4 separate regions of the Homo sapiens genome follow, and regions 1, 3 and 4 are each linked to region 2. Evidence: promoter capture Hi-C in 16 types of primary human blood cells and fetal thymus (Javierre and others, 2016). All regions are on one chromosome and are shown on one strand. Each heading gives the region's core, a stretch centred on a gene start or on the middle of the fragment in contact. The rest is flanking DNA. Distances are from core to core; before and after follow the strand shown.

What was found. The method cuts DNA at HindIII sites, captures the fragments that hold promoters and counts their contacts. A CHiCAGO score of 5 or more calls a contact.
Region 1: a fragment that was not itself captured here is called in contact with the fragment with the promoter of FLNA in region 2 in 2 of 17 cell types (total CD8 T cells and M0 macrophages); the score reaches 6.2 in total CD8 T cells.
Region 3: a fragment that was not itself captured here is called in contact with the fragment with the promoter of FLNA in region 2 in 1 of 17 cell types (M0 macrophages); the score reaches 5.9 in M0 macrophages.
Region 4: a fragment that was not itself captured here is called in contact with the fragment with the promoter of FLNA in region 2 in 2 of 17 cell types (M0 macrophages and monocytes); the score reaches 6.4 in M0 macrophages.

Annotation. Positions count from the first base shown.
Region 1 is chrX:153,922,021-153,924,741 of GRCh38, reverse strand. All of the region lies in intron 1 of ARHGAP4 (Rho GTPase activating protein 4), which reads left to right. Among named protein-coding and RNA genes, the nearest start is that of ARHGAP4, 2.9 kb to the left of the region's middle. RefSeq lists enhancers at 182-311, 818-1,318. The HindIII fragment of the contact is 3,334 bases long and covers 1-2,721 here.
Region 2 is chrX:154,373,332-154,376,031 of GRCh38, reverse strand. FLNA (filamin A) reads left to right here and starts at 1,398. Exons shown (of 48, transcript NM_001110556.2): 1 at 1,398-1,526. RefSeq lists silencers at 1,312-1,451, 1,462-1,521 and an enhancer at 2,611-2,660. The HindIII fragment of the contact is 17,250 bases long and covers 1-2,700 here.
Region 3 is chrX:154,040,796-154,043,495 of GRCh38, reverse strand. The region is part of intron 1 of MECP2 (methyl-CpG binding protein 2); the gene reads left to right. Among named protein-coding and RNA genes, the nearest start is that of MIR718, 22 kb to the right of the region's middle. RefSeq lists an enhancer at 1,948-2,448. The HindIII fragment of the contact is 203 bases long and covers 1,215-1,417 here.
Region 4 is chrX:154,089,724-154,092,423 of GRCh38, reverse strand. All of the region lies in intron 1 of MECP2 (methyl-CpG binding protein 2), which reads left to right. Among named protein-coding and RNA genes, the nearest start is that of MECP2, 6.6 kb to the left of the region's middle. The HindIII fragment of the contact is 6,480 bases long and covers 1-2,700 here.

The DNA.
Region 1 (2,721 bases), core at 217-2,716, 450 kb after region 2:
TTGCCAGATGTTTCCTATACATCTGTGCTGTCCCAGGCCCTGGGAGTATACTGCTGTACCAGAGAGAACCCCGACTCCAGCCCCTCCAGCCCTGGCTTTTTACCCAGAGTAAAAGCAATGATTCAATGAGGACTCCCCTGATTTCAAATGGCGTCAGTGGCCACCCCGCCCTCACATGGCTCACGGGTCTAGTGGGGGAGACATAGACTTTGCATTATGATAATAAGCACTACAAAGGGAAGGAAAGTGCACGGTGCCAAGAAGGGGTCGGAAGAGGGCCAGCCCTAGTTTAGGGGGAGGTCAGGACAGGGTGTGCTGACGAGTTTGTCTGAACTGAGATCCGAAAGCTCTGCCAGGAAAGCCACCAATGCAATCGACTTGCAATTCACAAGTTGCCTGCTCAACACCAGCCGGTGTGCATGCCCGGATCTGGACTAGGACATGGCTTCCAGTCAGCTTTTGCTGCCGGCAGTGATGAAGAAAGGCAGCGGTTCCCTCTGCTGGTTCCTTCTGCACTGTTCAGTTGTCATAAGTCCCCAGGGATTGTATTCCTCTGGGGGAAGCAGGGCAGGGCAGGCTCCAGAGGGCCAGTGAGGCGAGCAGTTGTCTAACACCTTTCTTGGAATGAAATGAAATTTACTTTTATCAAAAAATGTTAAACTGGGCCAGGCGTGGTGGCTCACGTCTGTAATCCCAGCACTTTGGGAGGCCGAGGCGGGCGGATCACCTGAGGTCAGGAGTTCAAGACCCAGTCTGGCCAACATGATGAAACCCTGTCTCTACTAAAAATACAAAAATTAGCTGGGTGTGGTGGTGCGCCCCTGTAGTCCCAGCTACTCGGGAGGCTGAGGCGGGAGAATCGCTTGAACCCGGGAGGCGGAGGTTGCAGTGAGCCGAGATCGCACCACTGTACTCCAGCCTGGGCAACATCCTCCGTCTCAAAACAAAAAATCAAAACAAAACGTTAAACTGATTCAGTGAGGACTCTCCTGATTTCAAATGGCATTAGCGCCCACCCCACCTGGCCTTGGAGCTGACGAGTTAACCACAGGAGGCCAGCCTCGGATAGGATGAAGACACTCTCCATCTGTCTCACTTGGCATCGTGGGCTCTGCCCTGCTCTGTCGGGAGGTCCCGTGCCCCAGGCTTCCACTTACCCAGCTTGATCTGCCGGTGGGAAGAGCTCTCCTGTTCAGTAATTCAATTGGAAGGGTCAGGCTCCTGGGTCCCTCACCTGGCTAGTCTGGTGGGGGCAGGGAGTGGAGGGACAGAGGGATGGGTGACGCATGCAGCCAGGGCTGGGGCACCTGGAGTCAAGGGGGCTGAGACTAGGAAGGGGACATTCTCCAATAGGAGATCAGGGGAGGAGGTAGGGATGCTGGGCAGGCGGAACCCACAGGGTCCCCATGCAACAGCCCCTGGGAAGTCACTGGCGGGACAGAAATCCAATGGGATTGAGCTCTTCTCAGCGGAGTCCTCCCTCGCTGCTGCTGGTCTGAATCCTGCCGTCTTTTGCCTGGACTAGCACAGTAGCTGCCACCTGGGCTCCACCTGGCAGTGTGAGGGGGCCCTGAAAACGAAGCTGGACCACATCACCCCACTACTGTGGCTCCTCTCTCACTCGGAGTCCAGCTGGGAGCTCTGCCCAGACCCCGGGCTCTGTGCCATCTGTCCCTACCGGTCTCTCGGACTCCCCCTACTGCCCACGTACAGCCAGCTCCAGCCTTCTGCTCCAACGATGCGGCTTGTTCTTGACCACCCTCCTTTAAAAAGAGGTCCTCCCTGTCCCCACCCACCCCTGGCTCTGATCTTGCTTTGTGGGTTCATCTTCTCCGCACCCATCACTCCTGGGCATTCTGATATGTGTTCGTGCCCCATTCCAATCCCAGCTCCAAGAGGGCAGACACTTGGTCAAACCTCTTTGCCTTTGTATTTAAAACGTGCCTGCCACAGAATGGGTGCATAATCAACATTCTGCTGAATGAAGACATCAATTCATGTCCCTCCCTGGGGATGTGGATGGAGATGAGTAGGTGGGCAGCCTGCTGGCCAGAAGCTGAGCTAGCATCTTATTTACTCGGGACGGGCACTCAGGAGATGGCAAAAGTGTCTTCCGCAGGTTGCTTAAACTTGCTGGACAGGCACTTCTTTGCTTCAGGCCTGTGTGGGGGAAGCAGCGTTGCCAAATCAAGCCAGTGATAGGGTGTCAAAAGGCCGGCAGTATGGGGCCCTGGGTGTGACTCTCTCTGCAGGGTGGGGGAATGCACAGGTGGGGCGGGGGGTGATTGGGAGTGGGAAGTGGGGTCAGAAGACGGGGGCTAGCTCCCTGCCCCATTCTTTCACTTACAAGGCCGGATCAGCTCTCCCTGGCTCCCAGCCCTCACTGTGGACTGTCCTTTCCCCTGGGGCCTGAGGGCAGGCTTCCCCAGCCACTGAGACTGCGAGATCGCTGCAGGCTTGCCCTGAGCAGCACTGTGATCTGTGTGTTGTGTATCCGTGTGTTTGCAAGGGAGGCTGCCACCTCCCGGAGCCTGGGTACCGGCGGGAAAGGAAGTCGCAGGGGAAACCATTCAGAGGCTTTCCAGGAACGAGGGAGAGACAGGAAGCCAAACTGAAAGGTGCCTGGCTGGCGCTGGGGCGGCTCTCCCCTCTCTCTGGGACACCCTTCCCCTTCCCCCTCAACCGGGTGGCTCTGGCCATCTGTTGGCCTCAGCGCAGAGG
Region 2 (2,700 bases), core at 149-2,648:
CCACGCCCAGCTAATTTTTGTATTTTTAGTAGAGACCGGGTTTCACTGTGTTGACCAGGCTGGTCTCAAACTCCTGACCTCGTGATCCACCTGCCTCAGCCTCCCAAAGTGCTGGGATCCACCACGCCCGGCCTTTTTTTTTTTTTTTTTTTTTTTTTTTGAGACGGAGTCTCTATCACCCAGGTTGGAGTGCAGTGACGTGATCTCGGCTCACTGCAACCTCTGCCGCCCGGGTTCACGCGATTTTCCCGCCTCAGCCTCCCGAGTAGCTGGGATTACAGGCGCCTGCCACTGCGCCCGGCTAGTTTTTATATTTTTAGTAGAGACGGGGTTTCACCATCTTGGCCAGGCTGTTCTTGAACTCCTGACCTCGTGATCCACCCACTTCGGCCTCCCAAAGTGCTGGGATTACAGGCATGAACCACCGCACCTGGCCTTTTTTTTTATGTTTAGTGACAGGGTTTCACTGTGTGACCCAGGCTGGAGTGTAGTGGTGAAATTATAGCTCACTGCAGCCTCAAACTCCCGGGCTTAAACGATCCTCCCATCTGTCTCCTGAGCAGCTGAGACTACCGGTGCACGTCACCACGCCCAGCTAATTTTTATATTTTTGGTAGAGATAGTGTCTTGCTGTGTTGCCCAGGTTGGTCTCAAACTCCCGGGCTCAATTAATCCACCTGCCTCAGCTTCCCACAGTGCTAGGATTATAGGCATGAGCCACCATGCCCGGCCAATGTTTTCTTTAAGATCAGAATCTTCTTAATACTAAACAAACTTAACTTTCTCGTCCCCCTGAGCGATCCTGTTTCTGCTGCCCACCCCAGGCCAGACCTGGCAGCGCCTGATCCATGGCAGTCAGGTTCATCCCAGGGCTCGGAGCCCTGCAGTCCCGTCCCGGGGCCCTGCCTGACGTAGGCGCCCAGCCAACACCTGCAACGACCTGTTGCCCCCACCCCAGGAAACAATCCCGGCTTGGGACAGACACCAGGGGCTGTGACTGTGGGTGGCTCCTTGGAGAAGGTGGCCTTGGGCCTCGGCCTTTCCACCTGGGGTGCGCTTGGCTCCCCCAGACTCAGACACGCAGGATCCTTGTGATTGGGCCTAGACACGAGCCCTGCAGTCCCTGTGGGCGCTGGAGGCGACTCCCCCACGAAGCCCTCCCTCCCCCAGGGCCTGGCGGCCCTCGCCGGCGGTGAGCTCATCTCGGGGGGCGGCGTCGCCCGGCGGCGGGTCGCTGGAGCTCACGGCGTGCCCCCGCACCCCCGCCCCCCACGCACCCGTCCCGGGCTCCTGGGCAATTTTACCAATTAAGGCTTTCTCGCCGGGCCGGGCCGGGCGCGGGGCGGGCGCGGGGCGGGGGTGCGGCCAACAAGAAGGCGGGCGGCGGCGGCCCATTCGCGTGGAGGCGCGTCGCGCGCAGCGGACGCCGACAGAATCCCCGAGGCGCCTGGCGCGGGCGCGGGCGCGAAGGCGATCCGGGCGCCACCCCGCGGTCATCGGTCACCGGTCGCTCTCAGGAACAGCAGGTGAGGTCTCCGCGGCCCGGCTTCGCGCCGTAGGGTCGCCGCGCTCCTCGTCGGCCGGGGGCGGGGTTGGAGAAGGCGGGCAGAGAGGCCGGAAAACGCAGGCGCCAGCTCGCGCCCAGGTCCGGGCCAGGTTCAGCTGGGATGCGTGAGCCGATGGAGGCTCCCCTGGCATCTGGGAGTGAGTGTCCAGAGAATAGCTTCCCTAGTTGACCCACGAGCCATGTCTGTGCCCACGAATGTGGGAGCCTGAGGCCATGGGGGGTCCCCGAGAGAGAGAGGGTGTCTGGGCACTTGCCCATGAACGGACCACTGCATGCCTGAGAGAGAAGGGCCCTGACACCAGGAACTTGTGTGGACTCAGGGCGAGTGGCCACCTGGAAGGACACTTCTCAGCCAGTGTGCCCACTGGGAGGGGGACAGCGTGTCCCTTGCTGGCTCGAGTCCACAGGGCACCAGCTGCTTTGGGCACAGGGGAGCTGGTTCTGGGGCTGCTCTACTCCATGGGGGCCATGGTGAGGATGAGACCAGGCCAGGTTCCTTGGTTGGGCCCTGGGCCCTATGCCAGGTTGGCTCTGAGTTGGATGCGCACTGCCAGCCAGGATATAACCAACAATGTCCCCAGATTCCCGTGCCACCTGGGGCCAGGCAAAATAGGTTAAAATCCACTGGCAGACCCATTTGTAAGTGCTCCGAGTGCACCGTCAAGGTGGGAGCTTGGGAATGGGCGACCTCACCTGCCGCACCTGGACTTGCCAGCACAGGTCTCTTCTCACCTTGCCAGTCTGCGGCTTCCTTCCCTCCTGCGCCCCCTGGCTACGCAGGCCTGGAAACAGCTCCTTAGGGATCCCAGCTGAACAGCTCCTGGGCTTGGGCTATACCTCCCAGTGGGAGGGTCTGGCCTGGGGTCTGAGGGCCAGGGGTGGTGTGGTGGGCGGGGTGTGCCTAACATCCAAGAATCTACTCCAAATAAGGGAAAATATGAAAGAGCTGGATTTTGGCTTCCCAGGACTGCCCGATCTGGTGGCTTTGGGATCGGGCGACATCTGGCGGTTGATACTATGTTCTAGGGACAAGAACCCTCTACACGCCCATTCCTTGTTTCCTCTAAATAGGGAAAAGCTAGGGCTGGAAGACACGGCACCCACCTCCTGACACTCTTTCTGCTGGAATTGAC
Region 3 (2,700 bases), core at 67-2,566, 330 kb after region 2:
TGAGCACTGGCCAGGCATCACAAAACCTATCTTTATGATTTAGAATAATTGGTGGTCAGCTGCTGTTTTAATGTTGTTGTTTTTTTTAATTTAGATATAATTCACATACCATGAAATTTACTCATTTAAAGTGTACAATTCATTCTTCAGTATAATTCATAGGCTCACAGAAAAAATTGTTTAAAAATAAAATGTGCAATTCAGTGTCTTTTAGTACATTCACAGAGTTGTGCAACCATCGCCTCTGTGTCATTCCAGAACACTTTCAGCACCCAAAAGAAACCCCAGACACAGGAGCAGTCACCTCTTATTACCCGCAGCCCCTGGCAACAACTCATCCACTTCCTGTCTCTATGGATTTGCCTATTCTGGACATTTCCTATAAATGGAATTATGCACTATTTGGCCTTTTGTGTCTGGCCTCTTTCACTGAGCGTAATGTCCTCAAGGTTCATCTGCATTGTAGCATGTGTCAGAATTTCTTTCCTTTTTGAGGCTGAATGATATTATATCCTATAGATAATGAGGTTTTGATTATCCACCCATCCCTTGGGAATGCATATTTGGGTTGCCCCCACCATTTGGCTGTTGTAAACTGTGCTGCCATGAACACTGGTGTACGGATATCTGTTTGGTTACTGGTTTTGGTTTTTTGTTTGTTTGTTTTGGTTTTTTGAGACAAGGTCTTGCTCTGTCGCCCAGGCTGGATTACAGTGGCACGATCTCTGCTCACTGCAACCTCCACCTCCCAGGTTCAAGCAATTCTCCTGCCTCAGTCTCCTGAGTAGCTGGGACTACAGGTAGCACTCACCACCATGCCCGGCTAAATTTTTTTGTATTTTTAGTAGAGACAAGGTTTCGCCATATTGGCCAGGCTGGTCTCAAACTCCTGACCTCAGGTGATCCACCCACCTCAGCCTCCCAAAGTGCTGGGATTACAGACGTGAGCCACCGCACCCGGCATAGTTGTGGCTTTTTGAGAGTGTATGGCTAGGAGTAAAATTGCCAGGTCATATGGTAACTCCATGTTTAACATTTGAGAAACTGCCAAACTGTTCTCCACAGCAGGAATTTTTTAACCTGTATGTGGTGGGCTTGTGTTTCGGTTTTCATTTTACACATCTATAAAGATGAGATTTGCTGTATGGCACTGGTTGCCTGTATTTGGGGAGGGTTCTGCTTTTGGTTGGCAAGAACTGCATTTTATTTAAGCTTAGCAAAACATAACTGGTTTCTCGCATCTTCTCAAAAGTGGAGGATTAAGAAATGGACTGCGAATTCAGAGCAGGGCAGCTGAACCTCAGGCTCCACCCTTGTAGCCTTCAAGCTGAACCTCATTCTCTCTTGCTCCCTGGAGACCACTGAGACACTCTGCCTGTGCCAGTTTGATTTCTCACATTTTTAAAGGGCCAAAGCTTGTGTCTCAAAGTGCTATAGCCTTTATTGATTCATGCAGAGAAGCCTCCTTGATTCCGTAATTCTGCAGCTAATACTGGAAGTAGAAAGAATTGGAAACACCATCTGGATGACACTTTAGGGTGGAAGCAGCCAGTACAAGGGGGGGCTCATTATTTCCTCTGGTCCCAGACTGTTCACCTGGAGCTGTAGCCACCACCCTGCCCTTAGGTTAACTGCCTCGAGTGGTAGTTTAGCTCTTTGTGCTGTGCCGAGGGATAACTGGAAGTGAAAGGTGCTGAGAAATGCCATCTCCTGAAAGTGGCGAGCATGAGTGAATTTACGAAAGGTTGGGATATTGCTGGGGCTCTGGAAGTTTCTCTGGAGCTCACTCCAGGGGACAGGGAGGGGGCTGGATTCCAATTCAAGTGAAAAATACCTTTCATCTGCCTTGTTCACCTGGCTTTTTTGCCTTTTTGTAAAATCTGAAAACCTCAGGGATTGAGTAGTCTTTCCTTAACTGCAGTTGCCTGTCTGGCCACACCTGCCAGCTGTTGCTTGTACCCCTGTAATTTGCACGGCCTTCCGGGCCTTTCTCACAAGATCACTGCAGGTCACATTCATGAGGAAAATGCAGGCAGTTCCTGCCATCAGACCCCTCAGGATGTCATGGTTTGGCCTGAAAACAAGATTCCTGCAACTCTAATTTTCCTTTGCTAGATCAAATGAAGGATTTGATCTAATGTTTGCATTCTAGCAGCAAAATCATTGAATATTTTATTTCTTAAGAGCCTTACTTCATATTTTGTAGGTATTTTAAGATTTTGTAAAGGCCTTTCTGCTTCAACGTGTGATGTGTGCATTCTTAGAAAAAGATCTTGTGTTCTGTAAATCACACAATAAAAACATGAGTTCGTGCAGGAAAAACTGGGGCGGGGTGGATCACTCCAAACTTGTGTGGTGTGGTAACTGGAGCTCACTGATGAAACCATGAACAGTTCTGGCTGAAAGAACCCCACAGTACACTGAGGTCTGTTGGCATCGCCGCCAGCACCGCCCCGGTCCCTTTGTGCGCGCCACCACACCTGGCTAATTTTTTATTTTTAGTAGAGAGGGGGTTTCACCATGTTGGTCAGGATGGCCTCGAACTGACCTCGTGATCCGCCCACCTCAGCCTCCCAAAGTGCTGGGATTACAGGTGTGAGCCTCCGTGCCCAGCCTTCAGCTTTTTTTCTTAATGTCTTTGTGTAATATGAAGGCATTCTCTTTAATTGTTAAAAAGCTTGCCTACCACTGCTTCAAAAT
Region 4 (2,700 bases), core at 171-2,670, 280 kb after region 2:
GGGAAATAGCCTAGTACTTTGTCTATGTGTTTATCTTCAAAATGTCCCAAATAGCCCTGGGAAAAAGGTCGTGCAGCTCAATGGGGGCTTTCAACTTACAATTTTCTTTGTTTTAGGCTCCATAAAAATACAGACTCACCAGTTCCTGCTTTGATGTGACATGTGACTCCCCAGAATACACCTTGCTTCTGTAGACCAGCTCCAACAGGATTCCATGGTAGCTGGGATGTTAGGGCTCAGGTAAGTAACCTTCCTTTTTTTTTTTTTAGTATATGTCCTGGTTTGGCCATCTGTTTTTTTTTTTTTTAAAAAAAAAAAAAAAAGGAAAAGAGGAAAAAAATATACTACTCTTGGACAGTATAAAAGTACCCCAAAGACTAAAGACATAACTGTGCCAAACTGTGCCATATAATAAAAAAAAGTCACTTCCCTGAGCCCTGAAAGGTCAGTGTGTGTAGGGTTACTTGGTCGCCACAGCGTGATCTGGGGGCGGGCGTCAGATTAGAGCCGGAACTGGTGATCTGCAACTTCAGTTCACCTTGAAGCAGGTCAGCTGAGCTGAGAGCGCTTGCACTGAGCCCTTTTGCGCTGCTGCTGTTGCCTTAGCGGTCTTCAGCATGTGTTTGCTTTGGTTTGGGGTAAATGGCTTAGTGGTCAACATTAGTGAGCAGTGGTAATGCATTTTCAGATATGGGAACTGGTATGTGGTTGGTTCCCTAGAAGGACACCCTCCTGAAAGCTGTCTCAGAACACCGGGGGCCATGGCTAATGTCATGTGCTTGCTACACTCCTCCCATGGTAACTAAAGAGAGTACCCAGATATACATCTGGTTCTTGGGACTCTAGAGGAGGATGAGTACTTTGTAAAAACCTGGGGGCCCCAGTCATTCTAGGTCTGACACTCAGGTGCTGTATCAGCTGCAGTTTGAACTACTTGGCACCATTGTGTGGACTTTAGTTTTGTAAAAATGAATGGTTCCTTAATTTCTCAACCTTCAGGCTCAACATCTCAAGCTGTTTGTTGTTGTTGTTGTTGTTGTTGTTTTGTTTTGTCTTTTTGATTAGTGGTCACTCCGCATTTGATGTTTTGACATGTGGATTTCAGAACTTCTGTGTGGTAAAGCAGAATGTTCCAATTGAATTTTCCCATTTTTTTTCCCCTAAGCAAAAATGTGAGTTTTCACTTATGCGGCCATTGTGATTCCGACTGAGACCCTAAGTCGTTCTTTGTTGTCTCTCTAGTGGTTTCTGACACCTCAGTGTGAAGCTGTTGTAGACATCCATAAGAAATAGCCTGCTTAGGGATTATGTGAGGGCAAGGTTTGGCTGAAGGAGAATAGAAGGTGTGGAAGGAAGCGGAAGACCAGAAGAGCATCACACTGCCTCAAGTCCCAAATTTGATTCTGCTCCTGATCCTGTGACTCAAATTGTCATTCTCTTTTACTGCTGTGGGGTGTGCTCTGGGCCCAGCTGACAGGACATTCTTTGTACTCCACGTATTTATGCTGGTGGGAGTTGTATGGCTAGTGCTTTGTGCTTTGTCTCAGAAATTGTGTGGACTAAATGTAATATGGGCAGTGAATGGGTTTCTTCTGGAAGATGTTAGGCCTGGAGGGTGGTTTGGGTTTTTACGAGTCTTTTTCTCAGATTACAGATTACGAATGGATGTTATAAAACAGGCAGTGTTGACACCATACAGTTTCTCCTAAGAAATGTACAGAGAGTTCAACCTGAGGAAGCTAATTGAAAATAAACTTTTAAAAAGAAATGTAGAAAGAGGAAATTTAAAAAGTATCTTATGAATGGGAAAGATGTAGCCATTTGAGCTTCAAAGAACTTTTGAGGGAATTCTCAAAGGACAGTACCCGTCTTTAGTAGATAAATGCTTGATATCTATTTTTCTTCTTTTACTTTTTAAAGAATTACTAAAATAATACATGGATTTATAGAAAAATCAAACCACTTAAAAATTGATCAGGTGGCTGGGCAAGGTGGCTCATGCCTGTAATCACAGCGCTTTGGGAGGCCTAGGCGGGTGGATCACCTGAAGTCAGGAGTTCGAGACCAGCCTGGCTAACACGGCGAAACCCCATCTCTATTAAAAATACAAAAATTAGCTGGCCATGGTGGCTTGAGCGTGTAGTCCCAGCTACTCGGAAGGCTGAGGCAGGAGAATCACTTGAACCTGGGAGGCGGAGGTTGCAGTGAGCCAAGATCACACCACTGAACTCCTGCCTGGGTGACAGAGTGAGACTCGGTCTCAAAAAAAAAAAAAAAAAAAAGTATCAGGTAAAAAAATGAAAGCTCCCCGCTTAATCTCTGCTCCCACTACCCAGAATAACTGCTGTTAATAGCTTAATGTAGATCCTTCTAAGTCTTCTAAGACTAAACTGTGTACTTTTTGTGTTGTAATTAACAGGAGGGTTTTTGTTTTGTTTTGTTTTTTCTTTTTTTGAGATGGAGTCTTGCTCTGTCATCCAGGCTGGAGTACAGTGGCACAATCTTGGCTCACTGCAACCTCCACCTCCTGGGTTCAAGTGATTCTCCTGCCTCAGCCTCCTGAGTAGCTGGGATTACAGGCGCCTGCCACCACACCCAGCTAATTTTTGTATTTTTAGTAGAGATGGGTTTCACCATGTTGGCCAGGCTGGTGTCGAACTCCTGACCTCAGGCGATCCACCTGCCTTGGCCTCCCAAAGT